Linked DNA regions of Homo sapiens: all the other regions are linked to region 6. The links are contacts of gene promoters, found by promoter capture Hi-C in blood cells and fetal thymus (Javierre and others, 2016). All regions are on one chromosome and are shown on one strand. Each heading gives the region's core, a stretch centred on a gene start or on the middle of the fragment in contact. The rest is flanking DNA. Distances are from core to core; before and after follow the strand shown.

Region 1 (4,425 bases), core at 174-2,673, 470 kb after region 6:
GAGAAATATTTTTGCCCAATTCAAAAACTAACTTGTGGCCGACTCTGGTTGCACTGCCTATGAGTTAGCCCTATTTAAAAAAAAGAAAAAGAAAAAACTAACTTGTATTTGATGCTTCAATATAAAAAAGGGAATTTTTCTGCTGTTAGAAACATCCTTAAACAGCTAACTAAACGCAGTGTTTTTTCTTTGAGAGTGGGAAAGCAGAGGAATAAATGAGTAAGGATATTTTATATGTTAAGATTTTTACATGGTTCCATTGAAGGAGATATGAGAGCTCAATATAATCCAAATATAAACATATATGGGTGGGGGGAGCTGGAGAGCCTCAGTGAACAGCTGCTAAGATACACAGCACTGGCCAGTCTGCACATACACAAAATGAGCAAGAGATTGTCAGAGCTCACAGAAGACAGAACAAGTCCAAAGGGACATGCCGTGAAAGACAGTTCCTATTTTGTGTATCTGCTTCAAGCACCTATGCCCTATTTTAGAGAAACTATATTATTATATTAAAAATAAACATGAAAGATGAATGTTCTAGCTGCTCTTAAGTGTACTGGGAAGAATAAACAAAACAATAGGCCTAGATGAAAAACTGCGAGTATCGTCAGTCATCTTTTATATGTCAAAGTATGCAATGCTTAAATAAAGAAAGAGAGACTGAGGCTGGAATGACTGTCAGGAAGCTTATCTGGTTTGGGCCAAAAATACAGCTAAATTGGTTTCAAATTAGAAAGATGGATCTCCTGATCAAACTTTTTATTTTTATACTCTAAACTCTGAGTTATAGAAACTTTCTTCCCCCTTCTTTTTAAAATGGCAATCCTAAGAGGGAAGGGCATATATCTGTTTTAATCTCTGTATGACACCTCAAAATATGCAGTCATTTAATTAGCCATTAATGGTTAAAATCCTATTGCCGAACCCACAAGTTAAAAATAGGAAGATTCATGTGATAGTAGAAGTCAAGATTAGTACTGCGTGTATTTTAGTATTCTATGTATTCCTAGAAAAGAAAATTAGCATTTTGGTCTTTGGTATTTCACTGATTCTTAAAATATACTCAAGAAGCTAAGCTGATGCTTAGGTGTCAGCTTGTCTTTGATACTCACTGTATCTGAATCCTCCAACACTGTCTGAGGAAACCCCAACATACTTGTCTTTGTTCTTCTTTGCTTTCTTTCGCTCTTCACGAAGCCTGTCGTCATCCTGGGCAAATTCAACCAATTCCTTCACCTTCTGTCGAATATTTATACCTTGATCCTTACCATGCTCATCTATGAGGATGGTAAGAGATAAGCAAAACCTAAGAATTCACTTAATATGTATCAAGCTCTTTAAGATTAAAAAAAAGACACAAAAACTTCAACATAAGAAACTTCAATATTTAAAAAACAATAGAAAGGGGCAAGTTGTGCTATTTAACTTTGTCATTTCCTCTTCAGCAAATTCTAAGTTCTAAAATGGAATTTTGGCTTATAAGAGCATGTAAAGATGAACTAAAAAGGACCACAGATAATGGTACTATGCAAGGTCAATTAAAGATTGACCTAAAAAGGATTACTGATGATGACCACACAAAATAGACATATCCATAAGTGCTATTGTGTTTTTCTATCATATTTTAAGAAAACAAATCAAAAGAAGAACCACTTTAGCATGTTAATAACTGAAAAGCACACAAATGTCTTGGTTTCCCCAGTACACGTCTGGAACACTAATTATGAGGTTTTAGCATAGCTCAAAAACTGAATTTTTAAAGTGCTTACAAGTGGGGTACGCTACAAAATGAAATGTGCTTCATTTTCTAGCCTCTTTCACATTCAAAACACACTGTGGCCTTGCTGCCTTTGCACAGTAAATATTATTTGGTGGGAGGGAAAAAAACCCCAGCTTCAAACAGATGTGTGTGTTTTGGAGCTCTAACCTTTTCTTCCCATATGATTAAAGCTATTCCTTTATGGACACCACAGGGGACCAGTCTCCAGTGCATATTTTAATATAAACCCGAACACTCATGTTGTGTTGGTTCTGTTGTTATTAGCCAGTCTTTTCTGCAAGTTCTTGTCTTCACTAATTAATACTCTAGGGCCCCACGTCTTGGATTCTGCACTCGTCACACAACCAGCAACAGTCACATTCTAATTAGAGCAGAGAAGCTTCTAAGCTGGTTCAGGTGACTGACAACTCCAACTACTGTTTTAATTTGCTTATAAGGTTTTTCTATTGCTTACCTACAAAGTGGTAATTTTCCAGGGATCGTAAATCATAAATGTGTTCTCTGGCACTTGTAACAACACGCTCTGATCCATTCCTTATGAGGTAAGCTAGGAGCAGCAACGACTGCAAAAATACAAAGCAATAAATGATTTAATGAAATATATTCTAGTAGAGCTTTGGTAAATGGTTAAAAAAAATAATTCTAACATTAGCAAATAAAGAATCTTCATGCTGGTGGTGAGGTTTCTTTACATTAGACTTTAAACACATAATCTAGAACTTACATAATCAATTTGAAGTTCCTCTTATATTAAGCATGATAAATAATTATAAATCATCTACTGGATACTATGTGTCAAAGACTTAAAAGAATAACACTGATGTTCAAAATATCAGAATGCTTGATATAAATAGACAATAAGGTTTTAGAAAGCTGACTCAGTTTTTACTTTTTATCTGAGCATTATGGAACTGTGAATTGCCAGAAATTATTTGGTAATTAAACAATCCTATAGTATTTTCCCCAGATAAAATTTAATTTTGAGGTTAATTATGTGGCTTTTGTTTTAAAAGGTTGTGGCCAGGCTCAGCGGCTCATGCCTGTAACCCCAGCACTTCCTGGGAGGCCGAGGTGGGCGGATCACTTGAGGTCAGGAATTTAAGACCAGGTTGGGCAACATGGTGAAACCTCGTCTCTACTAAAAATACAAAAATTAGCTGGGCATGGTGGCCCACGCCTGTAATCTCAGCTACTGAGGTGGCTGAAGCACAAGAATCACTCGAACCCAGAAGGTGGAGGTTGCAGTGAGCTGAGCCCGCACCACTGCACTCCAGCCTCGGCGACAGAGAAACTCTGTCTCAAAAAAAAAAAAAAAAAGATTGTTACCAAAAAATAATAATTTAAACAACCTGAAGGTAGAAAATTTTGCAAAATAGACATCTTCACACATACACACACACACACACACACACACACACAAATAGCTGGGTATTGTGGCGCACACCTGTAGTCCTAGCTACTTAGGAGGTTGAGGCAGGAGGATCTCTTGAGCCCAGGAGGTCAAGACTGCAGTGAGCCAAGGGCATGCCACTGCATTCTGGCTTGGGTGACAAAGCCAGACTGTCTTAAAAACAAACAAACAACAACCAACCCCCACCCCCAAACTAAATTTTGTTAAAATGTAAATTTGGAATGACTGCTAATGGGTGTAGGGTTTCTTTACAGGGTGATAAAAATGTTCTGGAATTAGACAGTAGTTACTCCTACAAAACTTTGTGAATATACTATATAATAAATTGTACATTTTGAACTTAACAATGCTTGGAACAAACCTCACTTGATCAGGTATATGAAAATCTAGTTAGGCGGAAAGGAGGGGGTGGCAAAAACAAAAAAAATTTAGTTAGGTTGGTAAAACTGAGGGACACAAAACCTCCTTCTACCAGTAATTTACAGCCATGTGTCACTTAATGATGGGGATATGTTCTGCGTAATGTGCCATTAGGCAATTTCGTCATTGTATTAATATCATAGAGTGTACTTACACAAACCTAGATGGTATGGCCTGCTACACACTGACAATCTATAAGACAACCTATTGCTCCTTGGCTACAAACCTGTGCAGCATTGTTACTGTAATGACTACTATAGGCAGCTGTAACACAATGCTGAGTATTTTTGTATCTAAACATAGAAAAGGTACAGAACAAATAGAGTATTATAATCCAATGGGACCACTGACATATAAGCAGACCATCATTGACTAAAATGTCCTTATGTGGTATATACGACTTTTAAAAAGGAGTTTATCCAAGAATTTTTAAAAAACCAAAAAACTAAAAGCAAATTTAATTTACAGAAATTTCAATTATTTCATCACACCTACCATACAACCTGAGGGAATGACACTGAATGTTTTCAGAAAGAAATAACAACAAAAAAAATGAAACTAACACATAGATTTTCAATCCTAAAAGCCAAACTATGTCATTTTGGATAGCAAAGAAAAACATTCTGAAGAAGCAAGAAAATATGGTAGGTTATAGAAGCATAGATGACTATATTATTATAGAATTCTGCATTATATGAGATCAGAACAAAAGGAATCTGATAAAAAGTTCGTATTCATAAGTTTAAAATTAGAATTATATTTTGAACATTTTGGATACAAAATACTGTGAGAATACTATCATAAATTAGGT
Region 2 (4,623 bases), core at 366-2,865, 350 kb after region 6:
TGCCTCAGCCTCCCAAGTAGCTGGGACTACAGGCTCGCACCACCATGCCCAGCTAATTTTTTTGTATTTTTAGTAGAGACGGGGTTTCACCATGTTCTTAGAGCAAAAATCTGCTTATGATCTGCTCTTTAACGAAAATTTGTAAAGGGTTATAAAAGGTTTGTGAAAATTTTACTTAGTTGTCAAACTGATTAAGATTGAATACATTTGCCTATAAGGTTTTATAAAGAATTGGGTTTGTCATCAGTAATGCTCTAATGCAACAGTGACATTTGGCTTATTTGATACAAAAATCATTCAGGAAGCATTATCAAATGTAAAATGGTGTTTGGATTTCTTTGGGCTGTATTTGTGTAAATGTGTTATTGGTGTGTCTTCCACAATTATAAAAAACCTCATAATTCTGATATGACTTAGTGTATGTTATGAATAATTATAATTGTTACATAAAATTATTATATGCCACAGAAGGAACCAAATTTCCTTATCGATTGTGACTTTAATAGTGGCTGTCCTAAGACTTTTTATCATCCACACACAATTGTTGTCTTCTTTTAATCCTCTTCAAAAGATGGTTTGTTATCAACTATAGAACTCTAACAGGGGTTCTTAAATGCAGGTTTCTGATAACTTTGAAAATTTTGACAGTAAAATAAAACAATTTCAGAACTCTCATGGAGACCTGAAATGTTCGTGAATATCAAGCAGAACAGGAGTTAACTGAATTGACTGAACCAATAGAGGACTAATCTTTTTAACTTTGCTTAAAATGCTGCTGATCCTTTGTTTTGTTTTTCAGAGTCAAAGAAACTTTTCTTTTGAGCTGCTTGCAGCTTGTAGCAATTGAGTAAAGTATATTGCTGTGAATAACATTTGAGGCATATTTGTTTCTCTCTACCTAATTTCTCCAGAATTTGGAAATTATTTGTGAGTATTCTTACATTACGGCAATATAGTTATTTGCATAAGTGCAATAAGAATCTGTTTTCTTTTGCAACGGGACAAATTGGAAACACTGATTATTTTACCAACGATTTGACTGGAATGGGGTGTTTTCCTTTAAGGAATCAAACTTGACTTGTAAAGCCAATAAAAGCCCCTGGGGGAATTGGCCTCAGACCTTGTCTACAGCAGTCCCTGTACAGTGTTTCTGACCTATGGTAAGTACAAAAATGTCACTTTCTGACAGGTCCAGGATCCCCAAATTATCTTGGGACCACAAGAGGAGAGGAATTTACTCAACTCATAGGTATTTGAGAGTACAAACCCATGGGCTCAGCTCTAAAAAAGTCTTATCTAAGATACCTTCTATGGAACAGAGTTCCATCAAAGCCAATTTAAAAAGAGATTATGTAAAAAATAATTATTTTTGCTGCACTTTATACAAATAATCAGACCAAGCATAATAAAGCAAATCAGTCTTACCGTGATTTGTCTTTAGTAAAAATGGGAAACTGGAGACAGAACTTACGTTTCAAAAACTGGCTGGGTGCCTTGGCTTATGCCTGTAATCCCAGCACTTGGGGGGCACAGGGCAGATCACTTGAGGTCAGGAGTTCAAGACCAGGCTGGCTAACATTGTGAAACCCTGTCTCTACCAAAAATACAAAAATTAGCCAGGCCTTATGGTGGGCACCTGTAATCCCATATACTTGGGAGGCTGAGGCAGGAGAATCACTTGAACTTGGGAGGCAGAGGTTGCAGTGAGCCAAGATTGTGCCACTGCACTTCAGGCTAGGTGACACAGCGAGATTCTTTCTCAAAAAAAAAAAAAAAAAAAAAAAAGACAGCAGGCCAGTTCTCTATGAAATGTGCATACTGTGCCTTCACAGATCCAGGTAGTGTTAAGCTGTCCCTAGGTAGACACCTCTTTATCAGACAGGCAGTTAGTTGGCTAGTCTCAACTTTCGTGTATTTCTGGTTTGTATTTGATATAGAACTTTGGGCCTCAGAGATGTCAGAGGACATAGTTCAGGCTCTTGAGCTTATATTGAAGTGGGGAGCATCCCTTTGTGAGGGAGAAAGGTGGAAATTGTAAAGCACTTGAGCACCTCCCCAACGAAAATTTTCTCTTTCACCGACTCTTTGAGAACCTTGAGGGGCAGGGCATGGTGGCTCACACCTGTAATCCCAGCACTTTGGGAGGCCAAGGCAGGTGGATCACTTGAGGCCCAGAGTTTGAGACCAGCTTGACCAACATGATGAAACCACACCTCTACTAAAAAAAAAAGTACAAAAATTAGCCAGGTGTGGTGGCATGTGCCTGTAATCCCAGCTACTTGGGAGGCTGAGGCAGAATTGCTTGAACCCAGGAGGCGGAGGTGCAGTGAGCTAGGATTGCATCTTTGCACTCCAGCCTGGGCAACAAGAGGCAAAACTCCATCTGGGGGCAAAAAAAAAACAGAAAAAGAAAAAAGAAAACATTGAGGAAGGTGTTGGGCTGAGGTGCAAAACCATTTTTTTGGTACTTTGAAAATCTCTGCATGGCTGAGTGCGGTGTCTCATGTCTGTAATCCCAACCCTTTGGGAGGCTGAGGTAGGCAATTCACCCCAGGTCAGGAGTTCGAGACCAGCCTGGCCAACATGGCAAAACCCCATCTCTACTAAAAATACGAAAATTAGCTGCGTATGGTGGCACACTCCTGTTATCCCAGCTACCTGGGAGACTAAGGCAGGAGAGTTGCTCGAGCCCAAGAGGTGGAGGTTGTAGTGAGCCAAGATAGTGCCACTGCACTCCAGCCTGGATGACAGAGTGAGACTCCGTCTCAGGAAAAAAAAAAAAAATTAGCCAGGTGTGGTGGCCTGTGTGTGTAATCCTAACTATTCAGGAGGCTGAGGCTGGAGAATCACTTGAGTCCAGGAAGCAGTGGTTTCAGTGAGCTGAAGTTGTGCCATTGCACTCCAGCCTGGGCATCAGAGTGAGACCCTGTCTCAAAAAAATAAATAAAATAAAATGCCCTGACCCCTGAGGAGAGATCCACTTAGAATTTTATTTTTGGTTTACAATATCATATTTTTTTCCTTTTCTTCCAGATGGGGTCTTAGTGTGTTGCCCAGGGTGAATTAAAAGCATGAGCCACCATGCCCAGCTATATACCTATCTTTATGTCAATACCACAGTCTTGATTACTGTAGCTTTATGGTAAATTTTGAAATTTTGAAATCGTGTAAGTCGTTGAACTTTGTTGTTTTACAAAATCATATTGGCTATTCTTGGTCCTTTGGATTCAAACAATAAATTTTAGGATCCTCTTACCAATTTTTCTTTCTTTAGAAAAGCAAACCCTAATGACACTTAGATAGGAATTGCATTGAATCTATGGATCAATTTTGGGAAAACTGACACCTTGAAGATACTGAACTTTCCTATTCACAAACATGGAACATACCTTGATTTATTTAGGTCTTAATTTCCTTTGACAATGTTTTGTAATTTTCAGTGTACTGTCCTGTACTTCTTTCATTAACTTTATTTCTGAATGCTTTATTCTCTTTATACTATCGTGAATGTAATTGTTTTCTAAATTTCCTTTTTAGTTAGTTGTATGTTTATTTTTGTATTTTTATTTTCTTACCTTATTGCACTGGCTGGAACCTTCAGTCCAAGGTTAAATAGAAGTGGTGAGAGTGTACATCCTTTTGCCTTGTACCCAATCTCAGGAAGAAAGCATTCAGTCATTCACCTTTAAGCATGTTGTTAAACACAGGTTTATGTAGCTGCCTTTTATCAAAGTAAGAAAGTTTCCTTCTATTCCTAGTTTATTGAGAATTCTATGGTGAATAGTAGTTCAGTTTTATCAAATGCTTTGTCTGTGTCTATTGAGACGATTATATGGCTTTTTCTTTTAAGGGTCAGCAACATTTTCCAGAAAAGGCTATATAGTAAATATTTTTGGTTTGAGCCATATGAGCTCTGTTGTAACCAATCAACTCTGCTTTTGTAGCAGAAAGCAATCATAAACAATTTGTAAATGAAGGGGCTTGGCTTTGTTCCAGTAAAATTGTATTTGCAAAAAGAAAAGTCATGCCAAATTTGGCCTAGGGACTATAGTTTGCTGACCACTGCTTTATTCTATTAATATGTGTATTACACTAATTGATATTCAGATGTTAAGCTAAAGTGTCTTCCTGTAATAAACTGACGGCACTTGGTAATAGTGTGTACATTACTGGATCTAACCTGCTGTTATTTAAAGAATTTTAGCATTTACATTCATGGGCAGTATTGGTCTATAGTTTCCTTGTGATATCTCTGTCTGTGGCTTCCAGTATCAGGGTAAAATGAACTGTAAGGTGTCCCCTTCTATTCTATTTTTGAAAAGATTTGCATTAGATTGGTATTACTAATTATTTAGATATTGATACCATTCCAAGTAAAACCATCCAGGCCTAGATTTTTCTTTGTAGAAAATTTTAAAATAATTTAGTAAATATTTTAACATTTTTTGCTGATATATATCTATGTAAATTTTATAATTTCTTTTTGAGTCTACTTTGATCATTTCTGTTTATGAATTTGCCCCTTTCATCTAAGGTGACAAATTGTTGGCATAAGGTTGTTCAAAATATTCCTTTATAAGCCGTTTAATTTCCATAGGGTTCAGAATGCTTTCTCTTTTATTC
Region 3 (4,816 bases), core at 1,963-4,462, 280 kb after region 6:
ATCATTGTTGGGGAAACAGTAAGAAAATTTAAAACAAACACTCCATCTTAAGAAAAATGCACTCTCCCTGGTTTGTAAAGTGAAATATCACTAAAAGGTACAGTTTTGATGATTTTTCTTTGAGTCTTCCAAGTAAACTTAAAGCTGTCTGATAAAAGCAACCCAATTTTGAACAGTTACATTTCTCCATTTCCCTTAGAGTCCCACACTTCCTTGTATCTTATTTCATGCTTTCCTAACAGGTGCCACACAAGTTCAGCTGTAATCTGCCTTCAAGTGTAAGGCATGGTAATTTCAAGCCCTACAGCTGGATAACATACTCTGCATAAGCCAGCCTTCTGAATAATTCAATATTCATTTTCTTTATTAGTGATGTAGGATTTTTCTTCTTGGTCACTTTGTAGGCTGGGGACCCCTGGCTGGTGACGCCCCGCTCAGACCTCGCTCAGCCACGCTGGCCTGCCCCAGCTCACCTGTGTGATAGTTTGTACCCGCATCGGGCGGTTCTTGAGCTCTTGTACCACACCCAAGAAGAATGAAGATAGGCAAGACATTGAAGGGTGAGGAGGGCAGATAATTTTATTGAGTGATGACACAGCTTTTAGCAGAGAGGGGACATGGGGGTGGTCCCCCTACCCGAAGACAGGAAAGTTCTTCGTGTGGCTGGTTCTGCCTTTTATGGACTCAGAGTAAGGATTATGTGCTGATTGGTTTGTGAGTATGCAAAAAAGGTTAAACAAAGACACCACTCAAAGGTGGGCATGATAGTGAAGAAAACCAATTAGGAAAGGGTAGATATATATAAAATAGGTGAAGGGTAAGCACCAATCAGAGGAAAGCAAACCAAACGGGAAGACAAGTTCTCAATCCAGTCCGAAGATTTAACTTGTAGCTTGGCTTTCAGGCTTTAAACTGTCTCCAGCTTGGAGTGGGGTTTTACCACAGGCCCACCCCTATCTGCCTAGGCATTTGGCAGCTGCCTGCCACTCTCATTAGGGTGACCAACTCATCACAGTTTGTCCAGGAGTTTCCTGATGTTAGCACTGAAAGTCTTATGTTTGGGAACCCCCTGCTCCTCAGTCCTGTGCAAACCAAGACCGGGACAGTTGGTCACCCTAACCTTCCATACAGCTTAAAAGAAAAGACATTCTCCAGGAGGAGGAGTCAGCCTCCACAGTGTCCCCAGGGAGCACAGGCAAAAACTTAGCTTTCTAAAGAAAAAACAAAAATACAGGTAAGGTGCTGTTCTATAGATAGATAGATAGATAGATAGATAGACAGATAGATAGATATTTTTTGAGACAGAGTCTCGCTCTGTCACCGGGCTGGAGTGCAGTGGCGGGATCTTGGCTTACTGCAACCTCCAACTCACTGGTTCAAGCGATTCTCCTGCCTCAGCCTCCTGAGTAGCTGGGATTACAGGCGCGCATCACCATGCCTGGCTAATTTTTGTATCTTTAGTACGGATGGGGTTTCACCATGTTGGCCAGAATGGACTCGATCTCCTGACCTCGTGGTCCTCCTGCCTTGGCCTCCCAAAGTGCTGGGATTACAGGCGTGAGCCACCGTGCCGGACCTGCTGTTCATTATTTTAAGAAATAGGACATTTCGGGCAGGGTGCAGTGGCTCATGCCTGTAATCCCAGCACTTTTGGAGGCCGAGACAGGCAGATCACTTGAGGTCAGGAGTTCAAGACCAGCCTGGCCAACATGGTGAAACCCCATCTCTACTAAAAAAAAAATAGAAAAATTAGCTGAGAGTGGTGGCACGTGCCTGTAATCCCAGCTACTCTGGACGCTGAGGCAGGAGAATCACTTGAACTGGGGAGGTGGAGGTTGCAGTGAGCTGAGATCACAGTACTGCACTCCAGCCGGGGTGACAGAGTGAAACTCCATCAAAAAAAAAAAAAAAAAAAAAGAAAAGAAAGAGAAGAAAAGAGAAGAGAAGGGGAGGGGAGGGGAGGGGACATTTCGGCCAGGCACAGTGGCTCACGCCTGTAATCCCAGCACTTTGTGAAGCCAAGGCAGGCAGATCACTTGAGGTCAGGAGTTTGAGACCAGCCTGGCCAACACAGTGAAACCCCATCTCTACTAAAAATACAAAAATTTAGCCGGGCGTGGTGGTGCACTCCTGTAATCCCTCCCAGCTACTCGGGAGGCTGAGGCAGGAGAATCGCTTGAACCCAGAAGGCAAAGGTTGCAGTGAGCTGAGACTGCACCATTGCACTCCAGCCTGGGCCACAAGAGCGAAACTCCGCCTCAAAGAATAAAAAATAAAAAAATATATATAGAAAAGAACATTACCCTTAAGTGGTTTCAGAGAAGGAGCCAGAGATGTAAAGGTGTTGTAAGCACTTTCCTATTTCTCCTCTCTTCTTACAAATGTTCATCACTTTGAGAAAATTTTACTAAGATTTGTGCATGTTAAACTCATCATCACAAAGGAGAGATTTGTAAAGCTGGATCGGGTGGTCTGAAAGCAGAATTCAGAGATAAAGGGTAAAACTGTAAAGAGGATGTGAAATTTTTCATCAAGTAGAATTTGATAAAAGGCAACTCCTACACTTGTTTTTAGATAAGTAGTTTTATTGTGATGCCTTTGAAAATTCTCTTAAATCCTAAAAAGTTATTAAGATGACCTAGAAAGCTAAAAAAAATGATGTGTCCCAGCAGAATCTGTTCCAACATGTAGGACAAAAAATTTTCAGAATTACTCTGCCCACATCAAAATTTTACTACTTTAAAATATTGCAAGCAGTTCATAGAATCTCCAGAAATTCATTTCAAAATCAGTTCCAAACTACAATTTTCAAAAGCAGTTCATATTTTTGGCTCAGGAGTAATCCTACCAACAGCTGGTTGACACAGTGAAAAACATACTTGTGTATCTATTTAGCACATTTGCCTACTTGAATTCTTGGGTGCAAATCAACTTTCCTTAAAAAGCCAGTTTAAATAGAAAAAGAGGGACTCCTCCCTAACTCATTTTATGAGGCCAGCATCATCCTGATAACAAAACCTGGCAGAGACACAACAAAAAAAGAAAATTTTAGGCCAATACCCCTGATGAACATCAATGCAAAAATCTTCAATAAAATACTGGCAAAACGAATCCAGCAGCACATCAAAAAGCCTATCCACCACAATCAAGTCGGCTTCATCCATGGGATGCAAGGCAGGTTCAACATATGCAAATCAATAAACACAATCCATCACATAAACAGAACCAATAACAAAAACCACCTGATTATCTCAATAGATGCAGGAAAGGCCTTCAACAAAATTCGACACTCCTTCATGCTAAAAACTCTCAATAAACTAGGTATTGATGGAATGTACCTCAATATAATAAGAGGTTTTTATGGCAAACCCACAGCCAATATCATACTGAATGGGCAAAAGCTGGAAGCATTCCCTTTGAAAACTGGCACAAGACAAGGATGCCCTCTCTCACCACTCCTATTCAACATAGTATTGGAAGTTCTGGCCAGGGTAATCAGGCAAGAGGAAGAAATAAAGGGTATTCAAATAGGAAGACAGGAAGTCAAATTGTCTCTCTTTGCGGATGACATGATTGTATGTTTAGAAAACCCCATCGTCTCAGCCCAAAAGCTCCTTAAGTTGTTAAGCAACTTCAGCAAAGTCTCAGGATACAAAATCAATGTGCAAAAATCACAAGCATTCCTATACGCCAATAATAGAGAAACAGAGAGCCAAATCATGAGTGAACTCCCATTCACAATTGCTTCAAAGAGAATAAAATACCTAGGAATACAACTTATAAGGGATGTGAAGGACCTCTTCAAGGAGAACTACAAACCACTGCTCAATGAAATAAAAGAGGACACAAACAAATGAAAAAACATTCCATGCTCATGGATAGGAAGAATCAATATTGTGAAAATGGCCATACTGCTCAAAGTAATTTATAGATTCAATGCTATCCCCATCAAGCTACCATTGAGTTTCTTCACAGAATTAGAAAAAAATACTTTAAATTTCATATGGAACCAAAGAAGAGCCCATATGGCCAAGACAATCCTAAGCAAAAAGAACAAAGCTGGAGGTATCACGCTACCTGACTTTAAACTATACTACAAGGCTACAGTAACCAAAACAGCATGGTACAGGTACCAAACCAGAGATATAGACCAATGGAACAGAACAGAGCCCTCAGAAATAATGCCACACATCTACAACCATCTGATCTCTGACAAAGCTGACAAAAACAAGCAATGGGGAAAAGATTCCCTATTTAATAAATGGTGTTGGGAAAACTGGCTACCCATAGGCAGAAAACTGAAACTGGACTCCCTCCTTACACCTTATCCAAAAATTAACTCAAGATGGATTAAACACTTAAACATAAGACCTAAAACCATAAAAACCCTAGAAGAAAACCTAGGCAATACCATTCAGGACATAGGCATGGGCAAAGACTTCATGACTAAAACACCAAAAGCAATGGCAACAAGAGCCAAAATTGACAAATGGGATCTGATTGAACTAAAGAGCTTCTGCACAGCAAAAGAAACTATCATCAGAGTGAACAGGAAACCTACAGAATGGGAGAAAATTTTTGCAATCTATCCATCTAACAAACAGCTAATATCCAGAATCTATAAGGAACTTAAACAAATTTACAAGAAAAAAAAAAAACCATCCAAAAGTGGGCAAAGGATATGAACAGACACTTCTCAAAAGAAGACATGCATGCAGCCAACAAACATATCAAAAAAATCTCATCATCACTGGTCATTAGAGAAATGCAAATCAAAAATACAGTGAGATACCATCTCATGCCAGTTAGAATGGCA
Region 4 (4,516 bases), core at 1,714-4,213, 300 kb after region 6:
TCTTAGATGGCATTCACCCAAGAATTTTTTTTTTAAAGAAGAAAACGGACAACAACAACAACAACAACAACAACAACAACAAACCTCTGTCCAGGCATGATGGCTCACACCTGCAATCTCAGCACTTTGGGAGGCAGAGGTGGGCAGATCACCTGAGGTCAGGAGTTTGAAAAACCAGCCTGGCTATCATGGTGAAACCCTACTAAAACTACAAAAATTAGCCAGACATGGTGGTGCATGCCTATAATCCCAGCTACTCGGGAGGCTCAGGCAGGAAAATCACTTGAACCCCGGAGGTGGAGGTTGCAGTGAGCTGAGGTCGCGCCACTGCACTCCAGCGTGGGCAACAGAATGAGACTTTGTCTCAAAAATATATATAAATATAAATATTAAAAAATTTTTTTAAAAAACCTCAAGGGTGGAACTGAGAAAATTTTAGACAAAGTAGGTACAAATGGCTTCTGCCAGAGATTTTTAGAAAATTAACATGACTTCCAGCTATTGAAACTGATGACCTTGACAACTCTAGCTTGGTGAGTCTATTATCTACACCTGAAATGGTGGTGAAATGTATACAGTACGATATTAATGCACAAAGCTTGCTACAGAAAAAGAGCAAATTGTTTTTATATGAGAAAAATCATATACCTCACTATCTTGATATCTTTCTTCCATGGAAATACAGCAAACATGCTTGAAAAACAAAATTACCGTAACTTCATATTTAGAATATGAAATTACTTGAAACAACAAAAAAGTATATACATTAACAACTGTATATGACAAGATATTAAAATTATGATTCCCCAAGATTATAGCACACGAGATGTGTGCTATAATCTGTTCTAACTTAAGCTTCACAAATGATTTAGAATATTAAATATACAGTGAAATTTCCAAATTTGCAAGTGATACTGACCTCTCTAAATAATATAAAGCCAAGTTGATGAGAACAATCTATAAGAATATATTTCAAAGCCATATGATTGGGGAACAAAATAGCAGATAAATTTCATGATTTACTGTTAAGGTGTATATCTTAATAATTCCCAAATTATGCTTATAAGATAATGTTCTCTGTTTATCTTTTGAGATGCAAGAAACAAATTTGTTTGTTTGTTTTTAGAGACAGCGTCTTGCTATGTTGCCCAGGCTAGTCTCGAACTCCTAGGCTCCCAAAGCACCAGGATTACAGGCATGAGTCACCACAGCTGGCCCAAGAAATAAATCTTTACTGACACTACATGTCACCAGAAATAAGAGATATTGTAAAAAACAAAACAAAAAACTAAGCACAAACAAAAAAATCATTCTTGTCTTAGATTTGATTACTGTTGTGCATAGCTCTGAAGTGCTTCCTATAATTCTGCCTACCATACTTAAATACAACATCATGGAGAAAGAACCCTACCAACATTAGAAGAAATCTTCCAGTTTCTACTAAACCCTTATCTTTGCTCAGAATGGCATAAAATTAATGTATCAAATGTCAACTGTTTCAAATAAGAACGTTGTTAATTCTGTTTCTGGGAAGAGAAAATATACAGCATTTAACAGTGGGTAGAAGCAGATGTAAGTGAGGTCTTGGAAAAAGGGATAAAAAGAAGAAAATTATATTATGAAAACAGAAATCATAACATAACACAGGCTGGGCATGGTGGCTCACCCTGTAATCCCAGCACTTTGGGAAGCCAAGATGGGTGGATCACTTGAGGCCAGGAGTTCGAGACAAGCCTGGCTAACATGGTGAAACCCCATCTCTACTAAAAATACAAAAATTAGATGGGCATGGTGGTGTGCACCTGTAGTCTCAGCTACTCGGGAGGCTGAGGTGGGAGAACTGCTTGAACCCAGGCGTCAGAGGCTGCAGTGAGCCGAGATCGCGCCACTACACTCCATCTTGGGTAACGGAGCAAGACTCTGTCTTAAAAAATAAATAAATAACATAACAGAAAAACAAGGTAAGTGAACAAAGTCATAATTAAGCCTGGGTTGAAATACAAGATTAAAGAAGTCACTACCAAACAGTGAAGACTGAGAGTGCCTGCCTGTGCTAGGACAGAACAGGGCTATAGGATCAGCTTTCTGCATCTCTCTCTTGAGTCTAGACATCTGGAATGTAGCTTGTTGCTATCAATTGCTAAAATGATACATTAAAAAACAACAACAACAACAACACTGAAAATGCCTAAGATTCTAAGAAGTCAGTTTCCAAGGTATCTAAAACTCTCAGCTCATATGGGTGGCTTTATTACCAGAAGGATTTAAAGAGGTTAAAAAAAAATAGAAAAAGCAGGTTTACGCAGTCTTAGTAGGTTTAAGAAAGTGGGCCAGATATGGTGGTTCACACTTATAATCCTGGCACTTTGAGAGGTCAAGGTGGGTGGATCATTTGAGCCCAGGATTCGACACCAGCCTGGGCAACATGGCAAAACCCCATCTCTAAAAAAATACAAAAATTAGCCAGGCATGGTGGTGTGCACCTATAGTCCCAGCTACTAGGGAGCCTGAGGTGGGAGAATCACTTGAGCCCAGGAGGGCAAGGCTGCAGTGACCTGTGATGCTGCCACTGCACTCCAGCCTGGGCAACAGAGTGAGACCCTGTCTGGAAAAAAAAAAAAAAAGTGACAGCAAGTAGTGAATGTATAAAGCTCTCCCTTAAAGATGGTTAAAACATGTTCTGGGGGCCAGGCGTGGTGGCTCACACCTGTAATCCCAGCAGTTTGGGAGGCCGGGGCGGGCAGATCATCTGAGGTCGGGAGTTCCAGACCAGCCTGACCAACATGGAGAAACCCCATCTCTACTAAAAATACAAAATTAGCCGGGTGTGATGGTGCATCCCTGTAATCCCAGCTAGTCGGGAGGCTGAGGCAGCAGAATTGCTTGAACCCAGGAAGCGGAGGTTGTGGTGAGCTGAGATTGCACCATTGCTCCAGCCTGGTCAACAAGAGCGAAAACTCCATCTCAAAAAAAAAAAAACTGTTCTGGAAAAACAAACCAATGATGGATAGCCCTATAACAAGTTATTAAGATATTAGGTTGTCAATTTTTGGTTCTTAAAATCAGTAACAGGAATGTAAAGAACTCAGAGGAGACATTTAGAGAGATTAATATAATGAACCAAACAAATATTTGGTAGAAAATAGATTACTTCCACTGCTTTTCTAGAGCAGTGAGAGAATGGTCTCAACAAATCAGTATCATTACTAAGTTCCAGGACAGGATGCCTCATACCCCATTAGCAAGGCAGTCTTTTATGCTGTTAGTAAAAAGACTCTCCTTTTTCCTATTGAATTACCTCAGTTATTTCCTGCATTATCTGCCTAATCTATGGGCTCATCCTGATTTGCTTAAAAGGTCTGAGGTTTTACACATGGATTATTTGCTACTCTGGCAAACCAAGTGTTTTGATCTCTACTGAAATTTTTCCTTCTCCTATTTAATGTTCTCACTTTCCCTCTTCTTTTTTTCTTAACATTGTTGTTCCAAATTCTTAAGACTAACAGAAAGAACACTTCAAACTTGAGGTAAAATTTTCTTGCAGCTATTTAAAAAATAGTAATCTACAATAAAACTAACTCACCAACTGGATGAGTGATGGGATTCTGTAGGCTGGGAATTACCACAGAGTACGTAGGTGAGCGGTAAGGATAAACTGTTGTAGGATTTGTAGAGATGATATTCTGTGTGGTACCAGAAAATACATTGGAAACACTTAGAGGGAATCGTTTTCGCTTCCCTGGACGAGGCTGATAAACCCAACCTATAGAAGACAAAATATGTTTAAATGTGTAGACTCCATTTAGCCTTTAAATAATTTTTTTCATACTAAAATGCAAAGCACTTTAAAGTGTTTTAAAAACAAATTATTGTCTAAAGTATCTTTTCCAGCTCCGGGATATTATTTCAGTGAATGACTTCTCCACTGTGTATTTTAACATACATATCCAAATAGCTCCTGACTAGTGGCCAATGTTATAACTCATCATTGAAAAGAAGAGGGTCAAATTTTTTTTTTTTTTTTTTGAGACGGAGTCTTGCACTGTTGCCCGGGCTGGAGTGCAATGGCACAATCTCGGCTCACTGCAACCTCCGCCTCCCAGGTTCATGTGATTCTCCTGCCTCAGCCTCCTGAGCAGCTGGGATTACAGGTGCATGCCACCACACCCGGCTAATTTTTTGTATTTTTAGTAGAGACGGGGTTTCTCCGTGTTGGCCAGACTGGTCTTGAACTCCTGACCTCGTGATCCGCCCGTCTCGGCCTCCCAAAGGCTGGGATTACAGGCGAGAGCCACTGCGCCTGGCCAAGGGTCAAATGTTTTATAACCAATGACACAGAATGAACCTGTAGTAGAGTCAACATCAAAACCGCTGTATTTGAATCCCAAAGCCTTTCCTCCACCTTATCAAATAATGCCTCACTATGACATTATTCATCTCATTTCCTCACTTTCTGTAAGTTACAATCATCTATATCTTACAATGCAATAGTCACTAATGATCAGTCACTATTTTT
Region 5 (4,339 bases), core at 1,580-4,079, 410 kb after region 6:
AAAAATGTTTTATTATGATCTTTTTACCTTTGAAGAATTGAAGAGAATGTGTTAGATGATAGTGGTGATTATAACAGTACTGTCAGCTTCTATTTGTAGGGTGATTTACACTTTTCAAAGGAATTTGTCTTGTACTTCTCATTTGGTCCTAACAGCTGTCCTGTCGAGGTTGCTCTCGGTGATGAGAACTCACCAGCAATTCTGTGTGTAACCCTGGTTAATCTCTGTTAATTGCTTTCATAAGACATAGAAACTGAAGCGGGTAAAGAAGCAGTAATGTTCCTCAAAGTGGGATCTAAAGCCATCCTGCATCAGAATCACCTGGGGCTTCTGGTTGAAACAAAAGGTTCCTGGGCTTCATCCCAGACCTACCAAAACAGAATCTCCAGCAGAATAGCTTTGGGTTCGTATTTTAATAAACCTCCTAGATATTCTTGCACACTGAAATTTAAGACCTTCTACCATGCAGTCATAAAGGCCCTTACCATCCATAGGTGAAACCCATCTTATATGGTGATAGCAGCTTAAAAATATTACACAGAAGGTACCAGGTGTCACCATTTTCTTCTGCCTAGGAGCTGAGTCATCTGTTAAGTGTAGTTCTGCTCTGAATAGATGTTACTCTGCCTTTTTTTTTTTCCCTGAAAAAGCTATACAAATAATAATTTTAATTCTGTCTAATGTTTTTCCTTTTGGGCTGTTCCTCTAGGCACTTACTGATGTGGATGAGACCTACCGAAAACCTGTCCTAGGCAAAGCATATGAACGGGATTCTTCACTGACTCTCACTAGGGTAGGCAGTTTTCCCCTGACCTCCTGAGTAGCCATCATGCTTTCCAGCTTAGGAATTAAGATCCCTGAGCCCAGTGACTAGGATTTCCTAGAGGGAAATCTCTGTTGCTATAAACCAGCTGTGCCTGTACCAAGGTATTCCTTAGTTCCTCTTTTCATGCTTCCAGTGAATCTCAAGTGAGTCTGTGCTTGTAACCTGCATATTATTTGAGGAGCAAGTTGTCTCTTACAACACCTGAAAGTCTTTCAGCTTTATACCACAGAAATAAGCCTTTTCTCTTGACATATGTATTATGTGCATTATAGTTAGAAATAGGAAATTTATGGCCAGGCGTGGTGGCTCATGCCTGTAATCCCAGCACTTTGGGAGGCCGAGGCGGGTGAATCATGAGGTCAGGAGATCGAGACCATCCTGGCTAACACGGTGAAACCCCATCTCTACTAAAAATACAAAAATTAGTTGGGCAGGGTGGCAGGCGCCTGTAGTCCTAGCTACTTGGGAGGCTGAGGCAGGAGAATTGCTTGAACCTGGGAGGTGGAGGTCGCAGTGAGCTGAGATCGCACCACTGCACTCTAGCCTGGGCGACAGAGTGAGACTCCGTCTCCAAAAAAAAAAAAAAAAAAAAAGATTTATTACTAACTTTTAAAAAATTGCAAAGCAAGGAGTCCACAGAACATAATTAAAGAATTTGGTCTTTTTCTGTATGTTGAAAGAGGGTGATGAAGGCTAAAGAGAAGGCTAATATTTATCATTGTTTGCTTTATAGCTATTTGATCGGCTGAAACTTCAAGATTCCTCCAAGAAGGAAGCAGATTCTAAGTCTGCAGTTGAAGATTCCACTCTGTCTAGATACTCACAGACATCCACTTGGAAGTTGGCTTCAGTGTGGGGAAGAGCAGACACTGGCCGGGGCTCACACAAGCGTTCCCGCTCTGTCCCTTCTTCCCTGCAGGCCTCTGCAAGGGAGGAGTCCAGGTCAGAGCTGTCAGGGAGGACTACACGGACAGACGGCTCCAGTGTGGGAGGTACCTTTTCCAGGGCTACCACCCTTTCCAGAGGCCAGTCCCGTAAGAAAAAGCGAAAGCCCAAAGTGGATTACCAGCAGGTATTCACTCGACACATAAATCAGATTTTCATTCGAGGCGAGAATGTCCTGCTGGTTCATCTTGCACAGTGACCAGCTCAGCCTGAGCTTTGGTTTTTAGAAATAAAGTGCATGAATTGCTGCTATGCTGTATCCTAGTATCCCAGTGAAACTCTGAGTTGGAATGATTCCCTCTGGTCCTGCATATGCAGAGGACGGAGCAGGCTCAGCCCCCTGGAAGATGAGCTCAAGGGGAGGACAGGCCTTGGGAGGGCAGGCGTTTGCATTAATATCAAGGCAAAAAGCATTCATAGATACATGCATCTGATTTGGTATTGTGATTTACTTCAGACCCTGAAACCAAATATCTGATCTTCCATTAGACTTAGGGGTCATGATATGAGTGGAATTTACATTTTAGATACTATAGGGGAAAGAAAAGTCTCAAAAAGAAGTATTGCATGTCTAAAAGCTAGTGCCCTGAGTACTCATGAATTCGATTCCAAGAGTAGTGGTGTAAATTGCCTTGGAGCCCTGCATCCACGTCTTGTAACTAACTTTTGAATTTTGCCTGACATGATTCTCTCTTGATGAAGAAATGACATATATTATCTTTGAATATCTACAAGGAAAGTTACCAACTTATGTAGGGGTGAAATTTGGATAGGCGGTATGCTCAAAGCAGCCAGCAATGAGTGCTCTGTTTTGATCCTTCTTCTTATTATGGAAAGGAGTACAGGACCTCTTCAGTCTTCCCCTTACCAGAGGTAGCCTCTGCAAATGGCATACCAGATGGGACTCTAAGATGCTTGTGTGGTGGCTTCTTGTCCTTCTCTTTGACTTCTGTGGCATGGTGCTAGTGCATGTACCCTGTGGTATTGCCCCTCTGTCCGTAGTGTGAACTGTCCTGTGAGCTTTATGTCAGGAGACTGTGACCTTCATGTCCAGCTTCAAAGAGTTGTGCATGAACTCGGTAATACACATCACACGGCTGAGAGTCCCCTTTCCAGGCAGGGCCAGCATGTGTAGAATATCTTTCAGAATATGGTTTCACCATGAAACAGGGGTGGTAGATTTATTCCCTTGTGTCAGGCCAAAGAAGTTCTTACAAAGTACAGTGGGTAGTGTCTAAAGCGACACTTTACTCACAGCCTGGCTTGAGTCAACAGGAACACCATAGCACCCACAAATACTTCTACTTGAATCATATTCTGTGCTTTTTCAATCACTAGTGCAGAATAGGCTGCATTTGACACAGACTGTTAGGCAATATTGATTTTTTTGTTTTGTTTTTATTTGGTTTTATCTGAGATAACTTATGTTCAAGGTGAGAATAAGAAATAGCCAACTAGTTAAAATGTATGAAAAGAAAACTTTCCCCTGCTGTATTTGTTGTGTAACATAAATAAGCCTTCTGAGAAGCAGGGTGAATAAAGTTTAGGGAGCTGGGACACCTGGTCCTGCTAGCTGGACCACTGGCTCATCATGCAATGAAAAGGTGAGCAGACTTAACCCCTCCGTGCCTCAGCTTTTTCCCCACAGACACCTACCTCACAGGGGCATTGAGAAAAAAAAAATGAAGGCATTTTACAGTCTCTAAACATCTTTAAGTGCCATGAGTAATTTTTCCTGACTCTGTTTCATAGCTTTGTAAGAATTCTGTGTCTTTATAAGACACAGAAGCAAGGCAGGTGCTACATAAAAAAGTAATCTCAGCCAGGCACGGTGGCTCACGCCTGTAATCCCAGCACTTTGGGAGGCTGAGGCGGGTGGATCACAAGGTCAGGAGATCAAGACCATCCTGGCTAACACGGTGAAACCCTGTCTCTACTAAAAATACAAAAATTAGCCGGGCGTGGTGGCGGGCGCCTGTAGTCCCAGCTACGTGGGTGGCTGAGGCAGGAGAATGGGGTGAACCCGGGAGGCGGAGCTTGCAGTGAGCCAAGATTGCACCACTGTACTCCAGCCTGGGCGACAGAGCAAGACTCTGTCTCAAAAAAAGGAAAAAAAAAAAAAGTAATCTTAGGGTTCATAGTTATGATCCTGTTGTAACTATCTTCGGAAGGCAGCAGTATCTTCTGGAACTTCCATATTCCATTCCTTCCTCCTAAGGGACAATGGAAGTTCTCAGAAGAGTATCTTCAGTAAGAGGAGAGTAACTTTTTTTTTGCTGCTCCCGCTATATCCCAGGCCTCACCCTTTTCTGATCATTATCAGAAAGAATCCCCTGAACTTTTCAAGGGGTTTATATGGTAGCACCAAATGGAGAATGAGCATCTAAAAATGACACATCCCGAAAGGGCAATCTGTGGAAGTTTGTTGTTTGTTTGTTTTTATTTTTAAATGCATTGTAAAGTGTACTCTAGAGCCAGATCAGGTGCACTAAAGTTTATAGAGGTTCCAGTTTACAAACTCAAGTGAACAGTAATCTTTGGAAGCTGCCAGTCTAAATTCTAAATAGT
Region 6 (4,785 bases), core at 1,893-4,392:
TGTTTTATTTGTCATGCAAATTTTTGCTTTCTACTTTATAACATATCCATGTTTGTTTTAATGTTAAAACAATGCTTTCAATTCTTAACTGTGTCCTCCGAGTGGACGCTGCTGCTGAGATGCCTCGTTTGTGCCTTGGCATACCCTGGGGGATACATTTTCCAGCTTGAGAAGCTTTGTCATGGGGCATTCATCCAACCCAGGTGACCTACAATAGCAGTGACGTTTGATGGGAGAGAAATGGGTAGTCTATAGACACATTTGTACAAACGACCTACTGTGTGGAAAGCTTTAGGCTACATGATGCGGGCGCTCTCCTCCCCACTCTCATTCCCCACAATGAGGCAGTATAGCGGGTGGGTCACCACCCCCCCTCTGTAAGGCACCCGCATCAGGGGCATCCTGGTTGGCTTCGGGATCCAGTTCAGCTCCATCTCTGGAGTTCTTGCGTGGCATTTCCACCAGGGGGAGCCCCTGCAGGTCTTCCTCCCTCTGACCAAGATCCGGGGCCTCCTCTGGCCATCTCACCAACCCATTGGCCTCCTCCATGTGGCCAGCCCTGTAAGACCATCGCGGCTCATGGCAACGGACACACCAGAACTGGAGGCAGATGAAGGCCAAGACGGCTGTGAAGCAGGCCAGCAGAATGGCCATCAGCACCCAAAGGGAGATCTGGGGGTCTACCAGGGAGCTTCCAGGAGCCAGCGGACTCTTATCCAGGGTGTGGAACATGGTGCAGTAGTGCCTGTAAGGGAAGGCAGCCTTCTTACAGCTGATGCACAGGAAGTAGAGAGTGGAAGGGGCAAGATGTTCCAGCACCACGGAGCTGATCGTTCGAGGCACCTTCTCCTCGTGGTGGAAGCTGTAGCGAAGATAGCCAGAGAAGATGCTGTTCCAGTTGGGCCTGTACATAATATGGTAATAGTCCTCCAGGCAGGGCTCCGAGGACGACCAGGAGATGATGGCTCCTGTATAAGAAATGTTCCCCACCTCGATGTTCATCCCGATTCTGGAACCAGAATCAAAGTGAAGAGTGACATCCCCTGATTTAAGTATGTATTTATCATAATCATAGCCACCATTTATTGCACATTTGAGACGGGCACTCATGTTGCCCTCATCTTACAGACAAAGAAATGGAGGCCGAGAGGTTCTGTTATTTAGGCATAGCGAAAAAGTGGCAGGACAAAAGTTAAAACTGGGGCTGTCCCATGCCAAAGTTCAGGCCTAAGAACAGATGCACCCATGCAATCCCAGCCACATCCCACCCTAGCTGAGATCCTTCAGATAACAAAGGGGATTTTCTTAAGGGGATTGTTCTCATCCCCTTAAGAAAAAAGAAGAAAAGGTAAGGAGAAATCAGTAGAACCTCAGAGGCTCCACCTTTATTCTCAGGTCTGTGACCTCCCCTCAGGCAATTGATTCACCTCAATTTTCCTTCTTGACCTCCTGTTTCTGCTCCAAGTACTGTGAGCTCAGTGATCTAGAACATTCTGCCCACTGCTTTTTTTAGCCTCCTGGTTCTGTTGCCCATGGTGAGTGGAAATTCGCTTCGTCACTCTTTGGCAGCTGATCTCACCCCAAAGCTTCTGCTCTTGTTTTGTTTGTTTGTTTTTTCAAAGCCAGCGGTACCAGGAAATTTATTTTATGGGTGAAGATAATCAGCCCCTAATATCAGCATAACTACCACTATTTAATTCTGCTGTTATTATGAATGTTAATCATGGTAATAACCACTCACAGTAAGTGGTTGCTATGTCACTTGTCATGCTAGATGATTCACAGGCAGTAATTAATTTCCTTTATTCTTCATCACATCCTCTGAGCTAGATTCCCATTTTACGGATGAGCAACCTGATGTCACACCGCTAATACGTAGAAAAAGGACTTAGTGCCGCCTAACCACTACATTTCCTAATGCAAGGCTGCCGGGTTTAGTTACAGACGTTATCGCAAAATGAGGTGCCAGGACTGAGACCCAGTTGCTGTTTTTCCAGACAAATCAAATGAGCCCTCTTTAGATTGCCAGGCCCCGCTTTGATAAGAGAGAGCCATCTTCAAGTATTTTAGTTTCTCTCATGCAGTTCCCTCTACTGATTGCCCCTGATCAGAAATACAGAGACAGTCATAGTCAGCCTACGCATATTCACATAACAGTCTCACCCTGCTTTGTCTTCCGCCTCTCCTCCCTCACATGAAACCCCGTAGGTTTCATTTTGGGTTGCAGTGACATAGTAAACAGCTGTCAACTGGATTTTCGCCTGCATTGGATATTAAGCCAAACCAATGGCTATTATGACCTGCCTTTCTCTCACCTCTGCTTTCCCCCATCCTCTTGTGTTTGTGCCCATTTTCCTCCAGGAGTGGAGCTGCAGAAAGGTGCACAGCATTGAGTAGTTTCTTAATCCTTGTTTTTCTTCTGTAAGGGTAACAGTGAACTAAGATACTCAGGAAGGTGAATAGTGTCTTTCTATGTGGCTGAATATTTCTTCCCAGTAAATAGGGAACGAAAGGGATGAGACGGATGTGCTCAGACCCTTCCAGGGAAGGTCATCATGAAGGAGACCGAATGTTTATGTTTCCTAGCTTGGTGTCCTCTACACACTCATCCTCCCCACACCACACATCACTATAAATACACTTTCGACCACGATGAAAAGAGCTTAATTCATTATAGGCAGCCACCTGTGTAAAACCTTTCCATCAGGAGTAATCAGGAATCCTGTTTCTTGTCACGCACAAATGTTCTCTTGGCTTCCTATCTGCCACTAGCTGTCTGTACAGATGGAATTACCTCAGCAGACATTTTTAAGAGCTTTCTGTCAAGACGCAAATAGCATCCTCACCTTTTAGGACCAGGTCCGTCTCCCTTATTGATTTTTCTTCCTCTGTTTCCGTTTCTAAATTCTCCCCTATTTTTAACTATTCATTTGCCCGGCCCTTCTCCAAGCAGAGTGTGAAAAGAAGCCATTTCCATTTCCAAGAAGAGCCATCTATATGTCTTACCTGATGCTTGCAGCGTGTCTGGTTAGAGCTCTGCCCTCCGAGGTGCAGTAGATTAAAGCTGAGAGAATGGGGCCTTCTCCCTCCTCTGCTCTGGGCTTTCCGTGTTGTTTCTCTCAACACTGAGTAATCCCACTGCCGCCCCTAATGCTCACATTATTCATTTCTTCAGATCAGCATCATTCACCATGGCAACCAGCAGGCATCTGTACGCACGATGCTTTCAGGGACCAGCCTGGAAAGGCTTTTGCCCAGTGAGAGGAGCTCTCATTCCTTTGGCTGAAAAAGGGCAGATGATCCCCTGAAAACTGGTCCCCAGTGCAGTACTAATTCTTCTAACACTCCTACATTTTCTCCCCAGTTGGCTGATTATTATTTTCTTGTCCCATCTAGATCCTCTTTGGCCAATGGTTTTAAATGCAAAGATGCTTTTCTCAGTTATTCCACAACCAAAGCAGTAATATTCATCTTCATCCCCTCCCACCCCTACACTTCCCCATCCCAACTGCCTACCCCACCTCTTTATCTTCATCTTTCTTTATTCTTGACTCATGTGCCATTACATAGTTATATGGTACTGGTCAAGACCCTTTTATTTTTATTGTCTGAGTCTCAGTTCCACCATCATCTGTAAAGCTGTGGGCTTGGGCTACATCAGGATGGCAGATCAGAAGGCAGAAGACCTGAGCCCTATCCCTGCACAGCCCTGAACCCCTGTCAAGCTTGCTAAACCATCATGGCACTCTCACTGGGTTGAATAATGCCCCCCCAAAATACATATCCATCCAGAACCTTAGGATGTGACCTGATTTAGAAATAGAGCCTTCGTAGATATAACTAGTTAAGGATCTCAAGATGAAATCTTCCTGGATTTAAGGGTGAGCCCTAAATCCAATGACTAATGTCTTTGTAAGAGAAAAGACAGAGAGACTCAAGGGGAAGAAGCCAAGGGAAAACAGAGGCAGAGAGTGGAAGGATGCTGCCATCAGCCAAGGAACACCGGGAGCCATCAGCAGCTGGGAAGGCAAGGAAACATTCTCCCCTAGAGCCTTGGAGAGGGCATGGTTCTGCGAGAGCCTTGATTTCAGGCTTCTGGTCTCCAGAACTGTGAGAGAATAAATTTCTGTCATGTTAAGCTGCCACATTTATGGTAATTTGTGATAGCAACCCTAGGAATCTAATGCAGCACTGCTTCCAGCTGGGTGCAGAAACAGCCCCAGAGTTCCTCTGAACACAAGCGTCCCAAGAAACTGCTTCCCAATCAATCAGTTGGAGTTGACGCCAGAAATGGAAACTGTTTGCTACTCCTGGATTGAATCATCCCCAGCGTTCCTTTCCTTTCAAGAATCCAGACTGCTTGCCTCCCCTTTTCTCATAAAGGGCCGTCTGGCTTTGAGGTTCCATCCCTTCCTGTTCCTTTCAACCTTGTAAGAACCCATTGCCACCATTCTATTGAGATCACAGGGTGTGTCTGGAATAGAGGGTGGAAAGTAGCTCAGATAGATGTAGACCTGAATAAATTTATACACATTATATGTTTTTAAAAGTCAGCTTTTCTCTTCTTGGTTCTTGGCCAAAGTATCCAAGTTAACCCATGAAGGTCTCTTTCTGATTCACATTAATGATAAAAGGTTAGGAAGAAAGCCAGGCACAGCTGCAGTGGTGTGCACCTGTAGTCCCAGCCACTTGGGAGGCTGAGGTGGGAGGATCACTTGAGCTTAAGAGTTCCAGACCAGCCTGGGTATTATAGAAAGACTTTTTCCCTTGGAAAAAAAAAAAAAA

The links. Contacts are between HindIII fragments. The CHiCAGO score rates a contact against its expected background, and 5 or more counts as called.
Region 1: a fragment that was not itself captured here is called in contact with the fragment with the promoter of FNDC9 in region 6 in 1 of 17 cell types (activated CD4 T cells); the score reaches 5.8 in activated CD4 T cells.
Region 2: a fragment that was not itself captured here is called in contact with the fragment with the promoter of FNDC9 in region 6 in 5 of 17 cell types (activated CD4 T cells, neutrophils, M2 macrophages and 2 more); the score reaches 7.7 in activated CD4 T cells.
Region 3: a fragment that was not itself captured here is called in contact with the fragment with the promoter of FNDC9 in region 6 in 1 of 17 cell types (neutrophils); the score reaches 5.4 in neutrophils.
Region 4: a fragment that was not itself captured here is called in contact with the fragment with the promoter of FNDC9 in region 6 in 1 of 17 cell types (activated CD4 T cells); the score reaches 5.2 in activated CD4 T cells.
Region 5: a contact is called between a fragment that was not itself captured here and the fragment with the promoter of FNDC9 in region 6, in 1 of 17 cell types (naive B cells). The highest score is 6.9, in naive B cells.

The regions. Positions count from the first base shown.
Region 1 is chr5:157,811,948-157,816,372 of GRCh38, forward strand. CLINT1 (clathrin interactor 1) reads right to left here. Exons shown (of 12, transcript NM_014666.4): 4 at 2,238-2,346; 5 at 1,116-1,280. Among named protein-coding and RNA genes, the nearest start is that of CLINT1, 45 kb to the right of the region's middle. The HindIII fragment of the contact is 1,473 bases long and covers 688-2,160 here.
Region 2 is chr5:157,698,000-157,702,622 of GRCh38, forward strand. It overlaps LOC105377676 (a long non-coding RNA gene), which reads left to right. Exons shown (of 3, transcript XR_941129.3): 2 at 800-927. Among named protein-coding and RNA genes, the nearest start is that of C5orf52, 29 kb to the left of the region's middle. The HindIII fragment of the contact is 9,921 bases long and covers 1-4,623 here.
Region 3 is chr5:157,618,112-157,622,927 of GRCh38, forward strand. No RefSeq gene overlaps it. Among named protein-coding and RNA genes, the nearest start is that of SOX30, 32 kb to the right of the region's middle. The HindIII fragment of the contact is 7,544 bases long and covers 1-4,816 here.
Region 4 is chr5:157,643,054-157,647,569 of GRCh38, forward strand. It overlaps SOX30 (SRY-box transcription factor 30), which reads right to left. Exons shown (of 5, transcript NM_178424.2): 3 at 3,584-3,763. Among named protein-coding and RNA genes, the nearest start is that of SOX30, 7.1 kb to the right of the region's middle. The HindIII fragment of the contact is 4,220 bases long and covers 854-4,516 here.
Region 5 is chr5:157,753,295-157,757,633 of GRCh38, forward strand. It overlaps LSM11 (LSM11, U7 small nuclear RNA associated), which reads left to right. Exons shown (of 4, transcript NM_173491.4): 3 at 710-793; 4 at 1,560-4,339. The coding sequence ends at 1,970. Among named protein-coding and RNA genes, the nearest start is that of LSM11, 12 kb to the left of the region's middle. The HindIII fragment of the contact is 6,812 bases long and covers 1-4,339 here.
Region 6 is chr5:157,342,535-157,347,319 of GRCh38, forward strand. FNDC9 (fibronectin type III domain containing 9) reads right to left here and starts at 3,143. Exons shown (of 2, transcript NM_001001343.4): 1 at 3,007-3,143; 2 at 1-1,009. The coding sequence starts at 1,002. The coding sequence ends at 328. All of the region lies in intron 23 of CYFIP2 (cytoplasmic FMR1 interacting protein 2), which reads left to right. The HindIII fragment of the contact is 2,139 bases long and covers 1,585-3,723 here.